3 separate regions of the Homo sapiens genome follow, and all the other regions are linked to region 1. The links are contacts of gene promoters, found by promoter capture Hi-C in blood cells and fetal thymus (Javierre and others, 2016). All regions are on one chromosome and are shown on one strand. Each heading gives the region's core, a stretch centred on a gene start or on the middle of the fragment in contact. The rest is flanking DNA. Distances are from core to core; before and after follow the strand shown.

The links. Contacts are between HindIII fragments. The CHiCAGO score rates a contact against its expected background, and 5 or more counts as called.
Region 2: a fragment that was not itself captured here is called in contact with the fragment with the promoter of WDR73 in region 1 in 5 of 17 cell types (neutrophils, total CD8 T cells, total B cells and 2 more); the score reaches 10.9 in neutrophils.
Region 3: a contact is called between a fragment that was not itself captured here and the fragment with the promoter of WDR73 in region 1, in 2 of 17 cell types (neutrophils and total CD8 T cells). The highest score is 5.7, in neutrophils.

What each region holds. Positions count from the first base shown.
Region 1 is chr15:84,652,079-84,656,188 of GRCh38, forward strand. It overlaps WDR73 (WD repeat domain 73), which reads right to left and starts at 2,205. Exons shown (of 8, transcript NM_032856.5): 1 at 2,156-2,205; 2 at 1,554-1,621; 3 at 636-724. The coding sequence starts at 2,196. NMB (neuromedin B) reads right to left here. Exons shown (of 3, transcript NM_021077.4): 3 at 3,054-3,331. The coding sequence ends at 3,296. RefSeq lists enhancers at 1,558-2,525, 1,952-2,191. The HindIII fragment of the contact is 10,475 bases long and covers 1-4,110 here.
Region 2 is chr15:84,774,191-84,778,300 of GRCh38, forward strand. ZNF592 (zinc finger protein 592) reads left to right here. Exons shown (of 11, transcript NM_014630.3): 3 at 3,993-4,110. Among named protein-coding and RNA genes, the nearest start is that of ZNF592, 28 kb to the left of the region's middle. The HindIII fragment of the contact is 7,525 bases long and covers 1-4,110 here.
Region 3 is chr15:84,572,856-84,576,965 of GRCh38, forward strand. It overlaps LINC00933 (long intergenic non-protein coding RNA 933), which reads left to right. Exons shown (of 4, transcript NR_038274.1): 3 at 167-396. Among named protein-coding and RNA genes, the nearest start is that of LINC00933, 4.3 kb to the left of the region's middle. The HindIII fragment of the contact is 2,256 bases long and covers 1,094-3,349 here.

The sequences.
Region 1 (4,110 bases), core at 955-3,454:
GATGGTCCCGAACTCCTGACCTCATGATCCGCCCAACTCGGCCTCCCAAAGTGCTGGGATTACAGGCGTAAGCCACTGCACCTGGCCTTCAATTCTTCTCTCAATGATTTTATTGGAACTCTAGACAGCTACTAACTCTTTTTTTCTTGAGAAGTTCTCTTCTCTTGGCTTCAGAAACATTGACCTTTTCTGAGATTCCTCTTACCTCAGAGGCTGTTCTTTCTTAGTATTCTTTGGGGAGGGGGGGTGCATCTTCCTGTACTCATCCCTTAAATGTGTTCCCTGAGGTTCCGTCCTCACTATATTCTCCTCACTCCTTATATACCACACATTCACTAGGTGACTTTAATCACTCTACGCATTTCGACCGCCCTCTATATCCTTAATCGCTCCCTAAATCTATTTCTGATAAAGTATAACTGACCTCCTCCTCTGATAGCCCTCTGTAAACCACGAGACATTCTACAGCATTTATCTCTGTGCATATGTGCCTCCCTCTGTTAGACTAGAAGGGCAGGCCTAGCGCTTTCTCTCTTTCTAGTATCCAGGACAATACCTGGTAGATAACAGGAGCTCCACAAATGTTTAATAAATAAATAAAAGTTGACATACTCAGCATTTATATTTTAAGTTACCTTGTTTTCCTTTACAGAAAGTCTGAGAGGTAATTTCAGATGAAGAATTTCATTCTTTTTCAGGCTTTCATAGCCAGCAACAAAGACTCCTGGAAAAAGAAGCAGAGGTAGCTGTCACAAATTGTTAGAAAGATTGCAGACCATGCAATCCCCCGAAGTAAGGATACATTCCTTCACTGTGCAGCCTTGTATGGAGGAATTGAGTACCTGGTTGTGTCTTTTTCAGACAAGGTCTCGCTGTGTCAGCCAGGCTGGAGTGCAGTGGTCCGATCACAGCTCACTGCAGCCTCAACCTGCCAGGCTCAAGTGATCCTCCCACCACAGCCTTCAGAGTAGCTGGGATTATAGGCGTGAGCCACCATGCTCGGCTAATTTTTGTATTTTTTGTAGAGACAGGGTTTCCTTGCTTAGGTTAGTCTCAAATTCCTGGGATCAAGCAATCTGCCCGCTGCCTCAGCCTCCTGAAGTGCCCAGCCTGAAGACTTTTTTTGTTAGCCACGCTGGAATACAGTGTCGTGATCTCAGCTCACTGCAACCTCCACCTCCTGGGTTCAAGTGATTCTCCTGCCTCAGCCTCCCCAGTAGCTGCTGGTACACAGGTGTGCACCACCTCGTCCGGCTAATTTTTGTATTTTCAGTAGAGACGGGGTTTCACCATGTTGGCCAGACTGGTCTCGAACTCCTGACCTCAGGTGATCCGCCTGCCTCGGCCTCCCAAAGTGCTGGGATTACAGGCGTGAACCACTGCTCCCGGTCAGAGATCTTAATAAGAGGAATATTAGTGCTGATGGGGCATCAAATTGCTACAAGTGACTCTCAGGTGCCCAGAAGAGTGGGTTGGGTCCCTCTAGGCTTAGCTCCTGAAACCCAGCTCAGGAGTGAGATTCCCTCTCCTTCAGGGCTAGAAAGGTATACCACCTTTGTCATCAATCCATTCAAGGACTCGAGTGGCTCCTGACAGGTCGAATGCATAGAAATCCTGGTACCTGCACAAAAGGGACACAGAATCACACGATGCACAGCACTTCACAGCTCAAAGAACTCCAAGATGGCAGCCGCATGGTTCAGTGGCCCAAACTCTGGAGTCAGGCAGACGTGGGACTGAGTTTACTTCCCATTTTACTCCCTGTTTCTGGGACCAGGCCAGTCCCTTGATGTCCCTGAGCCTCGGTCCTCATGTGTGGACGTCCCAGGGTACCCAGATTTCCCAAGGTTGACGTGAGGAATCAATGAGATCATCTGTGTTCTGAGCTGAACTCAGAGGCTGGCGCAAACTAACTGGGCACTGCGTCTTCACAAGCGCGGCTCTTACTAGTAATCTCACAACGCGCGCACGCAGGAAGGAGCCATTTCCTAGAGATGGGGGCCTAGGCCCAGGCGGAGTCCTCCACGGTGGCGAGCCCCGAGGCCACAGCTGGCCCACTCTGCACCAGGATCCCCAACGTGCCTCCACCCACACCCATCCGCCCGCCAGGCAAGCTCCAGGCCCAGCTCCCATGTCCCAGCCCCGTACGATTTACAAGCGCAAGGATTCCACCAGCCAGTCGTCCCCAGGATCCATGGCAACGACCGCTTCCGGCGTCTCACTTCCGCCTGCGAGCCTTCGGGGGCCGCGCGGCTCTCGCGAGATGTGGGCAGGGCCTCCCGTTAGGGGCGGGGTTAACAGGCTGAGCTGCGGCCCGGCATGGGTGGGTTACGGGTTTTCTCCGCGAAAGCTCCGGGAAAAGTGACCTGAAATCGGGACTTTCCCGCTGTCAGCTCCAAGCAGGACCTGAGGACCAAATGATCGCCCGTTTTAGGGCCAGGTGTTTGCAGCCCAAGAGAGGGGCAATGAATGCTCCAAGGCCAGAAATAATACAGGACCGCCCGGTTAAATTCGAATTTCAGAAAAACGGTGAATAATTTCTTTCTTACGAGTATGTTCATGCAATATTTGGTACATTTTATTAGATAAAATTATTGTTTATCTGAAATTCGAATTTAACTGGGTGTCCAGTATTTTTATTTGCTAACGCTGGCAACCCTTCTGACGGCCAGAGAAGAGAGGAAGCGGCCGGCAGGGTCTGGATCCCAACTCGGCGCTCCCCTCCAAGTCCGGCGGGGGTATTGAGTAAAGCCCGGCAGTGTAGTGTCTGCAGCCCCCTTTTACTAGCGAGGAAACTAGTGACACTTGCCTGCGCCAGTAGGTGGCAGAGATGAGAGTAGAACCCCGCGCCTGGCACGAAGCCTGGCATGCAACAGGCGTTATTTGCTTGCTGAATGAATGGGTAGGAGGCCAGAGTCAGTGCCAGGCTGGTGCCATGGCATGGGGTATTCTGGACTTTTTGAGCCAGCCCCATCTCACTGAACACTCTGCCCTCCAGCCCCCTTTTCCTCCCATCCCCTAAAAGACGGGTGAAAGGAGAGGACCAGGCATTGTATGTAAAGAGCAAGGTTTTATTCACCAATTCAACAGGGAAGCAGGAAATACAGCAGGAACATAATCTGTGTCTGCATCAGCGATATTTCTGGTGACCCAGCCAGAAATCACAGTAATGGAGTAACAGAGATTTGAGCTCAGGATTTACATCCAGATGGGGCCATCAACAGGGTCCCATTCAGCACCTTCCCTGGGTGGGCACAATCTAAGCCACGCTGTTGTGTCTGCCCCATTATTGGTGTCATTTCTGCAGTATTTGTACCAGCAGCCTCCTGTACTGAAGAGAAACATACAGAAGAATTGAGCCAGGGAGGGGCTCCTGATAAAGATAGGGGCATCCTGCCATTCCTAAGTGCCAGATGTCTGCAGAGGTGGGCACCAGCAGGCTGTCAGCTGAGGCAGGCCCCAGAGCACCCTGAATTGCCTTGGAGGGGTCGGGGCAGTAGTTTTCTCAGAACACAGCCCCAACCACCCAGGGTGGTCATGACAGTCAAAGAAGATCGTGGAAGAAAATCCAAATACAGTGCTTGGTGCTGGGCTAGTGTCAGCGTCCTCACTCCCCCACCCCAGCTCTGCCCCAGACCTCACTCTGAAGCCCCAGACGTAGGCACTGCTGCTTCTGAGATTCTCTAGTTGGTCTGCATGTGTCAGAGCTTCAAAACCAAGGGCATTAGAGGTGACATTGTTTCCCTTCAGACTCAGCCAGCCCAAGCTCCTAGGCCTTACATCTGAGGTCCTCAGGGGCTGCTGGTTCTGTGCCTCAGGAAGTCAGGGATGTTGGTTGAGGCTGGGTTGGACCTTTTCTAGGGAATGCCTCTCCCTTCAAAATGCACACACTATATGCTAGGCACACTGGGGGATATGAAGGCGAGTCTACAACAGGTGCCGCCAGGGAGCTCACAGACTGATAAGAGCTCGCATCTACTAAGGGCTGTCTATGAGCCAGGCACCATGCTGAGCATTTGACATAAATGGTCTCATTTAATGGGAGATGGGCCTTATTATCTTCATTTTATGGGTGAAGAATATTGAGGCTTTAGAGAAGTTAAGGGACAT
Region 2 (4,110 bases), core at 1,133-3,632, 120 kb after region 1:
CTTTTTGATTAGGAACAGCTTTAAGGCCATTTGCAAATGAAGGTTTTACTTTATTGCTTCTACAAATACTTATTGAGTACCTAATGGGGAATCCAGTGATGAATGAAATAGATAAGCCTCTTCCTTCATGAAACTTACATCCTAACATTCTTCTGCTAGATTATTGGGTCCCAAAGCATTTATATAATTATGAAGACTTCCTTTTTAAAATAAATTTTTCATGAGTCCTTATTCAGCAGTGGTGTGTCTAATGGCTGGTCCTTGAGCACACATATCTGGAGGTGAAGCTGGGTTCCCTTATGGGTTGGAAACCACCATTCTAGGTAATTTATGAAAGCATAAATCACTAGTCCAAAATTAGTCAATGGGTTAAAAGCTCTGTTTATATTTCCCCATGAATGGGAATTACATGAAGACATATATACGGATGCACACAGACAACATACATTCACCCAAGTTTTATGGAAGTCAGTTGTTATTTTGTTCTGTTTTTTTTTTGGTGGGATCTTAGCATTTAAAGTCTGTAGAAATTCTGTCTACTAGTCTACTAGTTCTGCCATAATTATATATAATCATACTGGTTTTTGTTTGTTTGTTTGTTTGTTTTTTGAGACAGAGTCCACTCTGTTGCTCAGGCTGGAGTACAATGGCGTGATCTCGGCTCACTGTAACCTCTGCCTCCCAGGTTCAAGCAATTCTCCTGCCCCAGCCTCCCAAGTAGCTGAGATTACAGGTGTACACCACCACGCCCAGCTAGTTTTTGTATTTTTAGTAGGGACAGGGTTTTGCCATGTTGGTCAGGCTGGTCTTGAACTCCTGACCTCAGGTGATCCACCTGCCTTGGCCTCCCAAAGTGCTGAGATTACAGGCATGAGTCCCAGCACCTGGCCACTGTTTTCTTTTTCTTTTTCTTTTTTTTTCCTAAGATAGGGTCTCGCTCTGTCACCTGGGCTGGAGTACAGTGGTGCAATCTTGGCTCACTGCAACCTCTGCCTCCCTGGTTCAAGCGATTCTCCGGTCTCAGCCTCCTAAGTAGCTGAGACTACAGACATCTGCCACCATACCTGGCTAATTTTTGTATTTTTGGTAGAGACAGGGTTTCACTGTGTTGGCCAGGCTAGTGTCGAACTCCTGACCTCAAGCGATCTGCCCACCTCAACCTCCCAAAGTACTGGGATTACAGTCATGAGCCACCGCATCCAGCTAATCATACTGGGTGTTGTTGTTGTTGTTGTTGTTGTTGTTCTGTTTTGTTTTTTTGAGACAGAGTCTCGCTCTGTTGCCCAGGCTGGAGTGCAGTGACGCGATCTCAGCTCACTGCAACCTCCACCTCCCGAATTCAAGAGATTCTCCTGCGTCGGCCTCCTGAGTAGCTGGGTTTGCAGGTGCACACCACCATGCCTGGTTAATTTTTGTATTTTTAGTAGAGATGAGGTTTTGCTATATTGGCCAGTCTGGTCTCAAACTGACCTCAAGTGATCTGCCCACCTCGGCCTCCCGAAGTGCTGGGATTACAGGCATGAGCCACTGCGCCCGGCCGAATCATATTGTTTTTATACCCTCAAATAATTCCAATAGGGTGATTCGGCATGCTGAGGCCCTTTCAAAACTAAGATGCTCCTTACCCACATCTAGTTGATATGTTTACTTAAATGTTTGGTAAAATTTTCTGGGCAAAGTAGTAGACTCTGTAATAAACAATATGAATTTATATTCATCTTTAAAAAATATTTCCAGATATTCCCTAGGTAGAAACTTATTCTGAGAGAGGGTATAGTTGTCAATCTGCCAGTCTTAGAGTTGTTCTTTACCCCCAAGGGGACTGTTCATATTGTTACATAATTCCACTATCTCACCTTTGAGTGAAATTTACTCTCAGCCTAGGCCACCAAACCAGTGATCCTGCCTTGCCTCTTGACTAGGCTGTTCTAGATCACTCAGTGAGCTTACCAGGTCTGGATCTATCTAGCTCGTTCAGATGCTTCAGGGTGAGCCTCTGACAAAGGCTCTGTAGGCCAGGCCATGGTTCCTGGGCTGGTGTTCATGGACATGGCTCTGGTCCCTGAGTGACTGCCCCCAGGCAAGGTAGGCAGCTGCCTGTGGTTTGCTCTTCTCAACTTTGGCTTGCTGCTTCCAACAGGTTATAGATACTGGTGTATGCTGAAACTTTTTATTTTGACTATACCTTTTATTTTAACTAAGTTATTCTGTTGATTTTCTAACTAGCATTTCCCTGGTGATCCATGTCAGATGTGCTTTAAGAATTTTACATTAATGATTTTTGGCTGGGTGCAGTGGCTCATGCCTGTAACCCCAGCACTTTGGGAGGCCAAGGTGGGTGGATCACATGAGGCTAGAAGTTTGAGACCATCTTGGCCAACATGGCGAAACCCCATCTCTATTAGAGATACAAAAATTAGCCGGGCATGGTGGCACACATCTGTAATCCCAGCTGCTCAGGAGGCTGAGGCACAAGAATCCCTTTAACCCGGGAGGTGGAGGTTGCAGTGAGCCAAGATCATGCCACTGCACTCCAGCCTGGGTGACAGAGCAAGACTCTGTTTCAAAACAAAACAAAACAAAACACCTGGTAGCTCACGCCTGTAATCTCAGCACTTTGGGCGGCCAAGGCCGGTGGAATACGAGGTCAGGAGATCAAGGCCACCCTGGCTAACATGGTGAAACCCTGTCTCTATTAAAAATACAGAAAAATTAGCTGGGTGTGGTGGTGCGTGCCTATAATCCCAGCTACTCGGGAGACTGGGTTGGAAGAGTCGCTTGAACCTGGGAGGCGGAGGTTGCAGTGAGCTGAGATCACGCCATTGCACTCCAGCCCAGGAGACAGTGCGAGAAAAAAAAAGAAAGAAAAGAATGTTATATTATTTTTAGAGTCTTTTGTAAGAAGCTCCTTAAATTTTTTGGCCTGCCTAGTTTCTTCTATTTTTTTTCCTTTTTGTATATTAAAAATATAATCAAAAAAATTTTTACATTTAAAAAAAAGAGGGGCTGGGCGCAGTTGCTCACGCCTGTAATCCCAGCACTTTGGGAGGCTGAGGTGGGTGGATCAGTTGAGGTCAGGAGTTTGAGACCTGCCTGGCCAACATGGCAAAACCCCGTCTCTACTAAAAATACAAAAATTAGACGGGCGTGGTGATGCATGTCTGTAGTCCCCACTACTTGGGAGGCTGAGCAGGAGAGTTGCTGGAACCCGGGAAGTGGAGGTTGCAGTGAGCCGAGATCACGCCACTGCATTCCAGACTGGGTGACAGGGCAAGACTCCGTCTCAAAAAAAAAAAAAAAGAAAAAAAAAAGAAAGGCATGGGGTCTCACTATGTTGGTCTTGAACTCCTAGGCTCAAGCGGTCATCCCACCTTGTGGGAAAATAATAACCACCAAAGTGCTAAAAATAATGAAGTTATGTAAATAATACAATTTGAAACATAGTTTGAATAATTTTAAAATGAAGATAAACAAAAGAGAAAATAATTTCGTCTGTTGAGATACTTTTTTTTTTTTTTTTTTTTTTTGAGATGGAGTCTAGCTCTGTCTCCCAGGCTGGAGTGCGGTGGCACGATCTCAGCTCACTGCACGCTCCGCCTCCCGGGTTTACGCCATTCCCCTGCTTCAGCCTCCCGAGTAGCTGGGACTATAGGCGCCCACCACCACGCCCGGCTAATTTTTTTGTATTTTTAGTAGAGACGGGGTTTCACCGTGTTAGCCAGGAGTCTCCAACTCGTGACCTGGTGATCCGCCCGCCTCGGCCTCCCAAAGTGCTGGGATTACAGGCGTGAGCCACCGTGCCCGGCCTAGATACTTTTAACATTTGGAATATTCTTGTAATGTAACTCCATTCTGGAGTATTTTTTCTAGTCTGTCCATTTGTCTTTCTTCTTTTAATTGCCTGCTCATCACCCTCACTCATTTTTCTAATGGGTTGCTTATATTTTACTTATTGCTTTGTAAGGGCTTTTTGTTTTTGTTTTTGTTTTAAGGAGCGGAGAGTTTAATAGGCAAGAAGGAAGGGAGAAGACAGAAGGAAGACGCTCCCCCGTACGGAGACAGAGGGAGGGGGGGCTCCAAAGCCGAAAGAGGAGGTCCCTACCTGCCACG
Region 3 (4,110 bases), core at 972-3,471, 79 kb before region 1:
TGCAGGGTTCTTTAGGTTTGGGGTGCTCTGCTGGCAGTTGCCTTATAAATATATAGGATTAAAATGGGATGCCCTGGAGCTTAGCTAACCTTTACACCCCACTCTAAAAGGAACGGACTGCTAGTTTTGTCTGCTTTATAAAAGATGGATCTGTCATTGTTTTTAGAACTTTTGGAGAAAGATTTCTTGGGAGGAAGCTATCCTGAACGCTTAGAGACTTTTCTCATTTACTGGCACACCAGCTTTAGAGTCCTAGGTCTTCATCCTGGCTCAGCCACCCTCCAGCTGTGTGAACTTTGAGAAGTTGCTTGACTACACTGAGTCTCGTTGTCACTATGAGTGGAGGTTGCTACGTTGCTACTGTGTGGAGCACCTACCCCCAAGCACTCTTATAAGGTGATGGTGAAGATTAAATGAAATAATACGGCTCAAGGGGGAGGATCACTTGAAGCCAGGAGTTTGAGACTAGCCTGGGCAACAAAGCCAGACCTCATTTCTATGAAAATGTTTTTTGTTTTCTTTTGTTTTGCTTTTTGAGATGGAGTCTCGCTCTGTTGCCCAGGCTGGAGTGCAGTGGCATGATCTCAGCTCACTGCAAGCTCTGCCTCCTGGGTTCATGCCATTCTCCTGCGTCAGCCTCTGGAGTAGCTGGGACTACAGGCGCCCGCCACCACACCCAGCTAATTTTTTGCATTTTTAGTAGAAACGGGGTTTCACCATGTTAGCCAGGATGGTCTCGATATCCTCACCTTGTGATCCACCTGCCTCGGCCTCCCAAAGTGCTGGGATTACAGGCATGAGCCACCTGCCCGGCCCGAAAATGTTTTTTAAAAAATTAGCTGGACTTGATGGTTTATGCCTGTATTCCCAGCTACTCGGGAGGCTGAGGTGAGATCATTTGAGCCCAGGAGTTTGAGGCTGCAGTGAGCCATGATCACGCCACTGCACTCCAGCTCAGGCAACAGAGAGAGACCCTATCTCAAATCAATGAATAAGTAAGTAAATAAATAAATAAATGAAATAATGCACACAATTACTACACTAGTACATGATCAGGCACATGATAAATGCTCAATAAATGGTAGCCCCAATAAGCTTTGTAATGTTTTGGGAAAGGGTGTCCTTTGGACTCAGCCCAGTGACAGAAGCATTTGAAAAGACTGATTTGTATGATGGCTATTTCCTCCAGGTACAAACCTGTACCTCCAGGGACCCAGGGCATTGGCTCAGTGGGGCACCTTGTTCTATTTTCTCTTGTTTTGGGCAGCACTGATTGCCCTAGGGCTAATCAGGACTGCCACCCCAGACTCCATTGCCAAGAGTATCCCCCTCCCCAAGCTAGCCATGGGAAAGCCACTTGCATCCTAAGACTACTGGAAATTAAAGGGAATAAAAAGCACAATTTAGTCGCTCACTCTCCAGCTGATGGGAAATAGGTTTTTGCTATTTTGAACAGAGCTGTTAGGAACATTCCTTGTCCACATCCCCTGTTTTATATTGTTTTATATAGGCAAGAATTTCTTTTGGATGTAGAGTAGAATTGCTGAGCTGGGAGGAGTATGAATATTCAGCCTTATGAGATGGAGCCAAATTGTTTTCCAAAGTGGTTATACCAGTGTATACTCCCAGCAGCAGTTCTTAAGAGATCTCAGGATCTCTATCTTCTGGTGATGTCACAACATACAAAAAGAATGAATGCCAGCTATAAACAACAATAAGGATGAATCTTAGCAATATAATATTAAGTGAAAAAAAACAAGTTCCAGAAGGATGCATACAGCATCCTCTATATAGCTTGGAAAAGAAAATGTGGGCATGGTGGCTCATGCCTGTAATCCCAGCACTTTGGGAGGCCAAGGCAGGAGGATTGCTTTAGGCCAGGAATTCAAGACCAGCCTAGGCAACATAGCAAAACTCTGTCTCTACAAAAACTAGAAAAATTAACTGGGTGTGGTGGTGCAGGCTTGTAGTCCCAGCTACTCATGAGGCTGAGGTGGGAGGATCTCTTGAGTCTAGGTGATCAAGGTTACAGTGAGCCATTACTGCACCACTGCACTCAGAGACAGTAAGTAACTTGTCTAAGGTGGCCTCATTAGAAGTTAGCTGCGGCCAGGCGCAGTGGCTCACACCTGTAATCCCAGCACTTTGGAAGGCTGAGGCGGGCGGATCATGAGGTCAGGAGATCGAGACCATCCTGGCTAACACAGTGAAACCCCATCTCTACTGAAAATACAAAAAAAAATTAGCCGGGCATGGTGGCAGGCGCCTGTAGTCCCAGCTACTTGGGAGGCTGAGGCAGGAGAATGGCGTGAACCCGGGAGGCAGAGCTTGCAATGAGCCAAGATCGGGCCACTGCACTCCAGCCTGGGCAACACAGTGAGACTCCATCTCAAAAAAAAAAAAGAAGAAGTTAGCTGTGGTGGCTGGGTGCAGTGGCTCATGCCTATAATCCCAAAACTCAGGGAGGCCAAGGCAGGAGGATCACCTAAGATCAGGAATGTGAGACCAGCCAGGCCAACATGGTGAAACCCTGTCTTTACTAAAAATACAAACATTAGCCAGGTGTGGTGGTGGATACCTGTAATCCCAGCTACTCTGGAGGCTGAGGCAAGAGAATAGCTTGAACCCAAGAGGCAGACATTGCAGTGAGCTGAGACTGCACCACTGCACTCCAGCCTGGATGACAGAGCAAGACTCCATCTCAAAAAAAAAAAAAAAAAAAGATTCAAAAGCGTTAGAAACCAAATAAATGTAATGAAAACAATCAGATTTTCTGCTTAAAGACCAGCGAAGAGGACAAATGGGAGGGGGAAACTGGAGCTCTGCCCCTGTTGGTGGGAGTATAAACTGAACCAATTTTTCTGCAGGATAATTTGAAAATTTATATTAAAAACCCTAAAACTGTTGTACGTTATTTTCCTCCAGAAATTCTACTTCTATGAATTAAATCCAAAAATGCTTGCTCTAATCCACTAAAAATATACATATAAGAAAATTTATTTCTGGGGTGGCAATGATTAAGTTAATATACATCGAGCTATTAAAAATGATGATGCTAAGGATAGATTTACTGCCATAGAAATATGCCTAAAACATAGTGACAAAAGACTATATAATGATTCTACTTTTTAAAATGTGTATATGCATAAAAAAGTATAAAAAGCAACAAGGCAGAATGTTTTGAGTGGCAAAATTAAAGACTTTTCTTCATATTTTGTCTTCCAAATTATTAGAAAAAGAATATGATTTTCTTTATAATCAGGGAGAAGTATTATTTTCATTTATTTCTATTTAAATTTATTTTCTTTTCCTTATTTTTTCTCATCTATGTATCACATATAGTCTAGAAAGCTTGAATCCCTGCCTCTTGAGATAAATCAGCCCATTTCTTTCTCTATAAATTTGCCTTTTTTGGACATTTCAAATCAATGGAATTATACAATATGTGGTCTCGTGTCTGGCTTTTTTACTTAGCTAATGTTTTTGAGGTTGGTCCATGACATATTGTAGCAGGATGAGCTGCAGACAAAACTCCTCAGACACCAGGTTAAAAAAGGAAGGAGCTTTATTCAGCTGGGAGCTTCTGCAGACTTGCATCTCAAAAGCCAAGCTCCCCAAGTAAGCAATGACTGTCCCTTTTAAGGGCTTACAACTCTAAGGGGGTCTGTGTGAGAGGGTCGTGATCAATTGAGGAAGCAGGGGGTATGTGACTGGGGGCTGCATGCACCAGTAATTGGAATGGAACAGAACAGGACAGGGATTTTCACAATGCTTTTCCATACAATGTCTGGAATCTATAGATAACACAAGCAGTTAGGTCAGGGGTTGATTTTTAACTACCAGGCCCCCAATTTTTTTTTTTGAGATGGAGTCTCACTCTGTTGCCCAGGCTGGAATGCAGTGGTGGGATCTCAGCTCACTGCAAGCTCCGCCTTCCAGGTTCATGCCATTCTTTTGCCTCAGCCTTCTGAGTAGCTGGGACTACAGGTGCCTGCCACCACGCCCAGCTAATTTTTTGTATTTTTAGTAGAGTCGGGGTTTCACCGTGTTAGCCAAGGTAGTCTTGATCTCCTGACCTTGTGATCTGCCCACCTCAGCCTCCCGAAGTGC